Regions from separate parts of the Homo sapiens genome. Here all the other regions are linked to region 2. Evidence: promoter capture Hi-C in human tissues and cell types (Jung and others, 2019). All regions are on one chromosome and are shown on one strand. Each heading gives the region's core, a stretch centred on a gene start or on the middle of the fragment in contact. The rest is flanking DNA. Distances are from core to core; before and after follow the strand shown.

Region 1 (2,700 bases), core at 91-2,590, 810 kb after region 2:
CATGGAGTGCAGTGGCATAATCTCGGTTCACTGCAACCTCCAACTCCTGGGCTTAAGCCATCCTCCCACCTCAGCCTCCTGAGTAGTGGGGAAACAACCTCCACATATCGGTGTTAGCAGTGTTCCGCGAGTGGTGCCTGAGAGCAGAGGAGAAACAATACCCTTGCCTTCATCCAAAATATGTATGGAAATTACTGGTCAAGTACTTCATTGATGGTTCCATCTAATAATGATATGGTTCCGTAAACATTTAGAAGGTTTTTAGATATCTAGAATAGGCAAATAGACAGAAAGGAGATCACTGGTTGCCTGGAGTCAGGGGCAAGGAGAACAGGCAGTGGCTGCTAATGAGTGCAGGGTTTCCTCTCAGGTGATGAAAATATTCTAAAATTGACTGTAGGAATTAGCTGGGCGCAGTGGCTCACGTCTGTAATCCCAGCACTTTGGGAGGCCAAGGCGGGCGGATCACCCGAGGCCAGGAGTTCAAGACCAGCCTGACCAACATGGAGAAGCCTCGTCTCTACTAAAAATACAAAATTAGCCGGGTGTGGTGGCAGACGCCTGTAATCCCAGCTACTTGGGAGGCTGAGGCAGGAGAATCACTTGAACCCGGGAGGCAGAGGTTGCAGTGAGCTGAGATCACAACATTGCACTCTTGCCTGGGCAACAAGAGCGAAACTCCGTCTCAAAAAAAAAAAAAAATTGACTGTAGGAATGGTTGTACAACTCTGTGAATATACTAATTTTTAAAACCCCATTGAATTGTACACTCTACATGGGTGAACTGAATAGTATGCCAATTATAGTGCAATAAAACTGCTAAGAAGGGCATTTAGAAACAACCGCAACGCTAGAACACCAGAATCCCTTTTTTTTTTGTCAGGGTCTCGCTCTGTCACCCAGGCTGGAGTGCAGTGGCGTGATCACAGCTCTCTGCAACCTCCGTCTCCTGGGCTCAAGCAATTCACCTGCTTCGATCTCCTGAGTAGGGGGGACCACAGGTTAGCCACCACACCTCGTTAATTTTTTCGTATTTGTTGTTGAGATGGAGTCTCGCCATGTTGCCCAGGCTGGTATGAAGTCCTGGGCTCAAGTGATCCACCTGCCTCAGCCTCCTAAAGTGTGGGGGTAACAGGTGTGGGCCACTGCACCCGGCCCCCTGCTAATTTTGAACAAATTTTTTTGTAGGAACAAAGTCTCACTTTATTGCCCAGGATGGTCTTGAACTCCTGGCTTTAAGCGATCCTCCTGCCTTGGCCTCCCAAAGTGCTGAGCATATAGGCGTGAGCCACTGTGCCACGCTTCTTTTTTTTTTAAATAAATTAGTTGAGTTTGGCCCTTTGTAAATATGTACCAATGGAATATATGAGCTATTATTAAAACCAGATACTGTTACTTCTCCTTTGCTATGACTAACTTTTTATTTCTGCAGTATATGTTGCTCTTTGGTTTAGGGGACTAACAACTTTTTAAAAAAATAAAATGTTATCTGTGTCTTGCAGGGCTGTTACAGGGGGTTACGAGCAAAATGGCACCTGGCCGGGAGGGAGGTGGGGGCTGAACCAGCCCCAATTCAACCAGGAAGGGGCATCTTAGTGTTCACACCAAAACCACCTTCAACTGGTTGTGAGCTAGGGGTGCTGCTATGGCCAGTGGGGGAGGCCTTTAATTCTAAGTCTTACGTTCTGAGTGTGCCTCTTTCTAATTCAAAGGTACAATATAAATAGACTGTGTGACCTGCATGAAAACATTCCTGTTTGCAATGGCACATCTCACAGAAAGTTACCATTTTTCAAACCACCTATAATGAGAATGGATGTCAAAATGGGATTCTAACATTTTGTAAGACCCTAAATTTATCAAATAAAGAGTCAAATATGTGCAATGAACTCTTCCTGAGACAGGAAGAAGGGGCACTTTTTAGAAAGATATTCAACAGAAGGGTTTTCTAGTTGACTGACTATCAAGGTAGAGAAAACCCTATAACTCCATTCATTAAAATATGACTATTAATACCTTACTAAATATCCTTCTACATCCTTACCCACGTTTTTATACACATGCTTTTAACACGTGTTTTAAATAACAAAAATGAGATTCCACTAAATCAACTATTTTAACCTGTCCCACTCACTCCCCTCTTTATTATACTTTTTGTGTCAAGTTGATTTATTTATTGAATAAATAAAATCCAGACTTTTCTGTTTAAGTGCCTGAATTTGTTCTTACACAAAGCAAGTGCTCTCAAGAAGCTCATTCTTGAAGATGGTTGAGAAATATCAATGACCAATATCAAAAGAACATTAACCCATGAAATGTACATGAATATGGCCACGCGTGGTGGCTCACGCTTGTAATCCCAGTACTTTGGGAGGCTGAGGTGGGTGGATCACCTGAGGTCAGGAGTTCAAGACCAGCCTGACCAACATGGTGAAACCCCATCTCTACTAAAAATACAAAACTTAGCCAGGCATGGTGGTGTATGCATGTAGTCCCAGCTACTTGGGAGGCTGAGGTAGGAGAACAGCTTGAACTCAGAGGCGGGGGTGGAGGTCGCAGTGATCCAAGACCGTACCACTGCATTCCAGCCTGGGCGACAGAGTGAGACTCTGTCTCAAACAATGACAAGAACAACAAAAATTTACATGAATATGCATATCAGCTGAAGGCAAGCACATTACAAATGTAAGTACAATTTAG
Region 2 (2,700 bases), core at 183-2,682:
CGATGGGATAACAGTCCCCCGATTGCAAGGTCAGGGGAAGGACTGTGTCAGAATATAGGCCCTCAGTGCAGGACAGTTGCTCATCCTAAGCCTCTCCTGCCTTTTGCTCTTCCAGTGGCTTTTCACCCAGAAGGAAGATCCTCCCCTGCAGAACCTCTCCCCAGAACTAGGTCTTTGCAGGTGACGAGGTAATCCCAGCCTCCCCTCCCCGCAGATCAGCGTTTTTCGAAGTGACTTTCTCACCAGGCGGAGCATTGAAAGTACCGATCCCAGCGCACCCAGCCCTGCTGAATCAGAATCTCTGGGGGTGAGGCCCAGGAATCGCCGTCTGAACAAGTCGCGGGCTGGAAACGGCTGCCCCAGATTACAGGGCAGCTCCCTGCTTCGCTCTCGCTCCTCCGGCCCCGGGAACGTGCAGGGGGGCGGGAGGCAAGTCCCATCAGCACTTTGAACTGGGGCTGCTTTTTAGTGACTCACCTCCCAGACTTCCTGCAACAGACAACTCTAAATAGCTCGGTCCCACCCTCCAGCAGGGGAGACATTCCGGTCGGGAAGGGCAGGAGGTTAGAAGGTGGGTGCCCCGCCAGGGCAGTCCAGGGAGACCCAAGGACAGGAGACGCTGGCTGCACAGCACAGGGGCGCACGAATAGGACGTTTTGTTTACAGGCTTTTGTTATTAAGGAAATTGGTGTCAGTCAAGGTAATTCTAGCTCAGATGAGCAATAAATATGCTCCCAGCTAATCTTGTGGGGATTTTATTGGCACTCGGAGCAGAGGTTCCTTTACCTTGACTACTCCCTCCCCTCAAAGCAAAGTCCTGCTCCCCAGCGGCTTCCCCCTAAGCATCGTGAGGCACTTGGGTCAGGCTTTTAAAAGTCCACTCTACGTGAACACAGAAGAGGTCCGGGCAAAGGTGAGGAGTGGCTTCCTGATCCTACCTGGAGGCCGAGGATGACCAAATGACCTGAAATAAAACCCTGGGTGACCTGGTTGGATCAAGGCATACGCAAGCTCCCCCGGGCCTGCTCCACACTCGGGGTGATCACCTGGCCCGCGGGCGGCCCGGGCAAGGAGGAACGTCTCGAGAAGGCAGCCGGCTCGCCGGAGTCGGTTCCAGCGTGTTCGAGTTACAGCTGCGAGCCCTCAGGGACACCGGCGGCAAGTCCCGGCTTGCAGAGAGGGGAGCCAGTCCCGGGAGAGCGCGAGTCCCGGCGAGCCCGAGTGCGCGCCTTATGCGCGCTCCCCGCGACGGCGCAGGGGGAGGGGAGGCCGCAGCAGCCACTCAGAGGAACGGTAGTGAAGCCTCCCAACAACTTTAACTGTCAATCAGACTTAATGGGGTATTGAAAAAATGGGGGAAAAAGGGGCCGCCCTCTCCGCGACGCGGCTGCCCGGGGAGCGAATGAATAGGGCCGCGCAGACCAAGGCGTCCGATCCACGCGCGCTCCACACCCGGACCCTCTCCAAGTTGGAAAGGACAAAAAGAAGGCAATAAATGCTAAAAAGGGAGAGAAGGGGAGCTGGATCGAGCGGCAACTCCCAGCCTCTGCTGGAACAGAGAGGGAGGGAGGGAGCCGGAGCGAGCGAGCGCGCGCGAGGGCGAGCGCTGCACGTAAAGAAACTGACACCCGGACCCCCCACTTCTCCTGCACGTTGCTGGCAATCAGATCGCGTTTAAGCAATTTCCTGAGCCCAAGAATAGCAATGAGTCGGGAGACTTTCGCGGGCTGAAATTGGGAGCTCCAAGCACTTTTTCCCCCCACTTTTTTTTTTTTTTTTTTTCTGGAGACGGGGTGGGGGTGGGGGCGCTACAATTTGGAATCAGCTTTTTTTTTTTTTTTTTTTTTTTTTTTAATCTTGCACTTTGAAACCGCGGGACCGAGGCAGGGTGCGCGCGTGTGGTTGGTGCCTTTTTTTTTTTTTCTTCCCCTCCCTAAACTCCTCTGTCAGTCTGTAAACATTACCTGAGAATTCCCCAGCCGAAACGGCTGCTGGGGCAAGAAACTTCTTGTTAGAACTTTCCACCTCCGGCTTCCCCCTCCACCTCTTTTACCGTCCCAACCTTAGGAGACGCTTTTTCTCCCCCAGAGGAGAATTTATCTTTTTTTTTTTTTTTTTTTTCTTTTTCTCACCCGGTGCTTTGCATTTGGGAAGAGGTGATTTCAAGAGTGGCCAGGTGGGACGCCTCTCTCCTCCTTATTCGGTTTACTATTTATTGTTCGGGGTGTTTTTTAATTCCTGTATTGCTCGGCCCGGGGAGTTTCGCCCCCTGCCCGGCTCCGCGGCGCGGAGGATGGTGTGGAAACGGCTGGGCGCGCTGGTGATGTTCCCTCTACAGATGATCTATCTGGTGGTGAAAGCAGCCGTCGGACTGGTGCTGCCCGCCAAGCTGCGGGACCTGTCGCGGGAGAACGTCCTCATCACCGGCGGCGGGAGAGGCATCGGGCGTCAGCTCGCCCGCGAGTTCGCGGAGCGCGGCGCCAGAAAGGTACCAGGCACTGCGACTCCAGGGAGTGGGGGGCCGCAGGGGCGGGGGTAAGCCCACCTGCTGCCGCTGCGGGATCCCGCGCCCGGGAGCTGAGAGTCGCCGGCCACCCCACTTCTCCGCGCCACCCACGAGTGCTGAGCTAGTCGGTTTCACCTTGTAAATTTCCCGGGCACCGGACTGTCTTTTTTGGCAGGTTCAGAGTTGATCCGCTC
Region 3 (2,738 bases), core at 55-2,554, 550 kb after region 2:
TAGGATTAAAGGGGAACTGGGTCTTCCCTCTCCCCCACCGTGACCCACCGCTGGACTAACAGCCTGCTCCTTCCTTTCCCTCTGTATCATTCAGCAGGCATCCACTCGCACCTACTATGGTTCTATGCAGGGGTCCACCGGGGTCCTGGGTCAGCTGAGGGCCTCTCTCTCCAGCAGCCCCTGGGCTCCGTGAAACACGCCTGGTTACTTTGCATTCTCCCCACAGTGATTAATTTGGCGCTGGCCACTGGTAAGTGCTCAGTTTTCCTAAAGCAGTCCCCAAACTCAATTCTGAGGCAACCCACCATAGACTTCAGCCCCACCACTGACCTTCTTCCAGGGGCAAATGCCCACCACGTGCTCCAGCGAATTCAATCCACAGCGTTGCTTTGCCGGACGCGGATTGGGGAAGCTAATCCCGGTGGTCCTGCACCCTCACCCCACTCTCACCCACAGCCAACTCTCCCTCCTTTCCTTGACCCTCCAGCCAGTGGCCAGCTTAGGAAGGGGGCAAACGGGACCGCGCACACAACAGGGTAGAGCGCGGACGACCAACCTCCCATGGCTAAGGGAGGCCCCATCTGGCCTGCCCACTACTCCCACGGCCTCACCTGATCTGCCCAGGACCCCGACGGGCCCGCAGGTAGGCGGGCTAAAGAGCGCCTCCCGCGTATGGCAGTGCTCTCAGTCCAATTCACACTGAATGAATGAATCAGTCCCAGCCATCGCGGGGTGAGAAGGAGGCGCCCCCCACCACTAGCCCTTCAGCCAGCCTCCCACCTGTGGGTGCTAGCATATTCCGGTGTTCCTGCTTGTCACCCGCGCCCCCTCACTCCAGCTGGGCAGGGAACGGGGTGAGGAGTGTCCTCCCTTGCGTCCCACGCACCCCACACTGTCCGGGCTCTGGACCGCCGGCACCTCCCCAGGCGCCCGTCACCCGCTTACCTGTGGGAAGGCTCGTAGCGCCCCCAGGAACAGCAGTCCCAGCGCGGCGAGGAGGACGCGCATCCCCGGGGCCGGACGTGAGGTGGCCTGGCGGCCGGCGCCCACCTGGGAAGCGGGGGAAGCGCGCGGCGCCCACGTGCGGTCCCGGCGGTTCTCAGCCGCGCGCGTGGACTTCAGGCTCCAGCACACTCCCGCCGCGGCCACCTAGTCCGCACCCAACGCACGCCGCGAAGTCACTTCAAAAGTGGTTGTTCCTCCGAGGTTTCAGCCTTAGTTCTCCCGTATCAAATTGGTTCCAGGAACACTTAGCTACAAGCAGCGAAGAAAAAAGGGGGCAAACACGTGCAGAGATGACTCAGGAAAAGGCACACTAGGAGACGCCTCCCTTAGCTGTTTGAATGGCCCGCCCCGGATTTGACGGAACTAGTGGTCCTGGCTCTAGGGAGTGTGCTGCCCGCCGCACCTGGGCTGCGGGGAGCGGAGGCAGGCAGCTTCTGGCCCTGGAGGTGGGGACTCACAGGATATTAGGAGGCCCCAAGGGGGTTCCAATGCCCCCACCTCCACTCCTGCCCCAAGAAACGGTGAAATGTGAGTAGTTTCCTGTCCCTGACACGATCAGCCAGGACCTTCTCCCATGCCCTTGAGATTCTTTGGAAGGGACAACTGGCCTAGGGAGACTGCAGAAAAAGCAACCATCACCCACCCATCCCCATTCATAAGCATTTGCTGTAAAATGAATCAGTGAGTGGATGATAAATTGGTGGATGGATGGATGGATGGATGGATGCATAGGTGGATGGATGGATGGATGGATGGATGGATGGATGGATGGATGGATGCATAAGTGGATGGATGGATGGATGGATGGATGGATGGATGGATGGATGGATGCATAGGTGGATGGATGGATGGATGGATGGATGGATGGATGGATGGATGGATGCATAAGTGGATGGATGGATGGATGGATGGATGGATGCATAAGTGGATGGATGGATGGATGGATGGATGGGTGAGCAGCAGGTGAGTGGGTAAATGGGTGGGTGGATGGGTGGATGGATGGATGCATAGATGGATGGATGGATGGATGCATAGGTGGATGGATGGATGGATGGATGGATGGATGGATGCATAAGTGGATGGATGGATGGATGGATGGATGGATGGATGGATGGATGGATGGATGCATAGGTGGATGGATGGATGGATGGATGGATGGATGGATGGATGGATGCATAAGTGGATGGATGGATGCATAAGTGGATGGATGGATGGATGGATGGATGGATGGATGGATGGATGGGTGAGCAGCAGGTGAGTGGGTAAATGGGTGGGTGGATGGGTGGATGGATGGATGCATAGATGGATGGATGGATGGATGCATAGGTGGATGGATGGATGGATGGATGAGCAGCAGGTGAGTGGGTAAATGGGTGGGTGGATTGGTAGATGGATGGACTGAATGTTGGAGGAACTGATGGATGGTATAGATCATTTTATTTCCCTGAGGCCTGACCCTTTAGAGTTTTCTTCCTGGAGGAGGCGGCTGGCACTCTCTCCTAACAGAAATGATTCAAGCCTCCTCGTACTATGTTCTCATTTGCTGGTGAATGATTTTCCCTTCCAGTGCTTCCCCATCCCCTGGGTTTTCTCTTTGCTCCTTTTATTCCACATTCCGTGTGTCTGTGTTGAGCATCTGCTGGGTGGGCCACAGGTCAAGGGTTCTTTTGACTGATTTTGTTTGGTTTTCAGATGTGAAAGCCAAGGCTCAGAAATAGGCAGGCAGTCCTAGG

What was found. The method cuts DNA at HindIII sites, captures the fragments that hold promoters and counts their contacts. A contact is called where the count stands out against the background at its distance.
Region 1: a fragment that was not itself captured here is called in contact with the fragment with the promoter of DHRS3 in region 2 in 1 of the 25 tissues and cell types used here (adrenal gland).
Region 3: the fragment with the promoter of TNFRSF8 here is called in contact with the fragment with the promoter of DHRS3 in region 2 in 1 of the 25 tissues and cell types used here (adrenal gland).

The regions. Positions count from the first base shown.
Region 1 is chr1:11,809,387-11,812,086 of GRCh38, reverse strand. The region is part of intron 2 of CLCN6 (chloride voltage-gated channel 6); the gene reads right to left. Among named protein-coding and RNA genes, the nearest start is that of CLCN6, 4.5 kb to the right of the region's middle. The HindIII fragment of the contact is 4,210 bases long and covers 1-2,700 here.
Region 2 is chr1:12,616,942-12,619,641 of GRCh38, reverse strand. DHRS3 (dehydrogenase/reductase 3) reads left to right here and starts at 1,432. Exons shown (of 6, transcript NM_004753.7): 1 at 1,432-2,488. The coding sequence starts at 2,294. RefSeq lists enhancers at 1-543, 544-1,175, 1,176-1,807. The HindIII fragment of the contact is 24,076 bases long and covers 1-2,700 here.
Region 3 is chr1:12,061,869-12,064,606 of GRCh38, reverse strand. It overlaps TNFRSF8 (TNF receptor superfamily member 8), which reads right to left and starts at 1,304. Exons shown (of 15, transcript NM_001243.5): 1 at 946-1,304. The coding sequence starts at 1,008. RefSeq lists silencers at 912-1,041, 1,629-1,861. The HindIII fragment of the contact is 14,330 bases long and covers 1-2,738 here.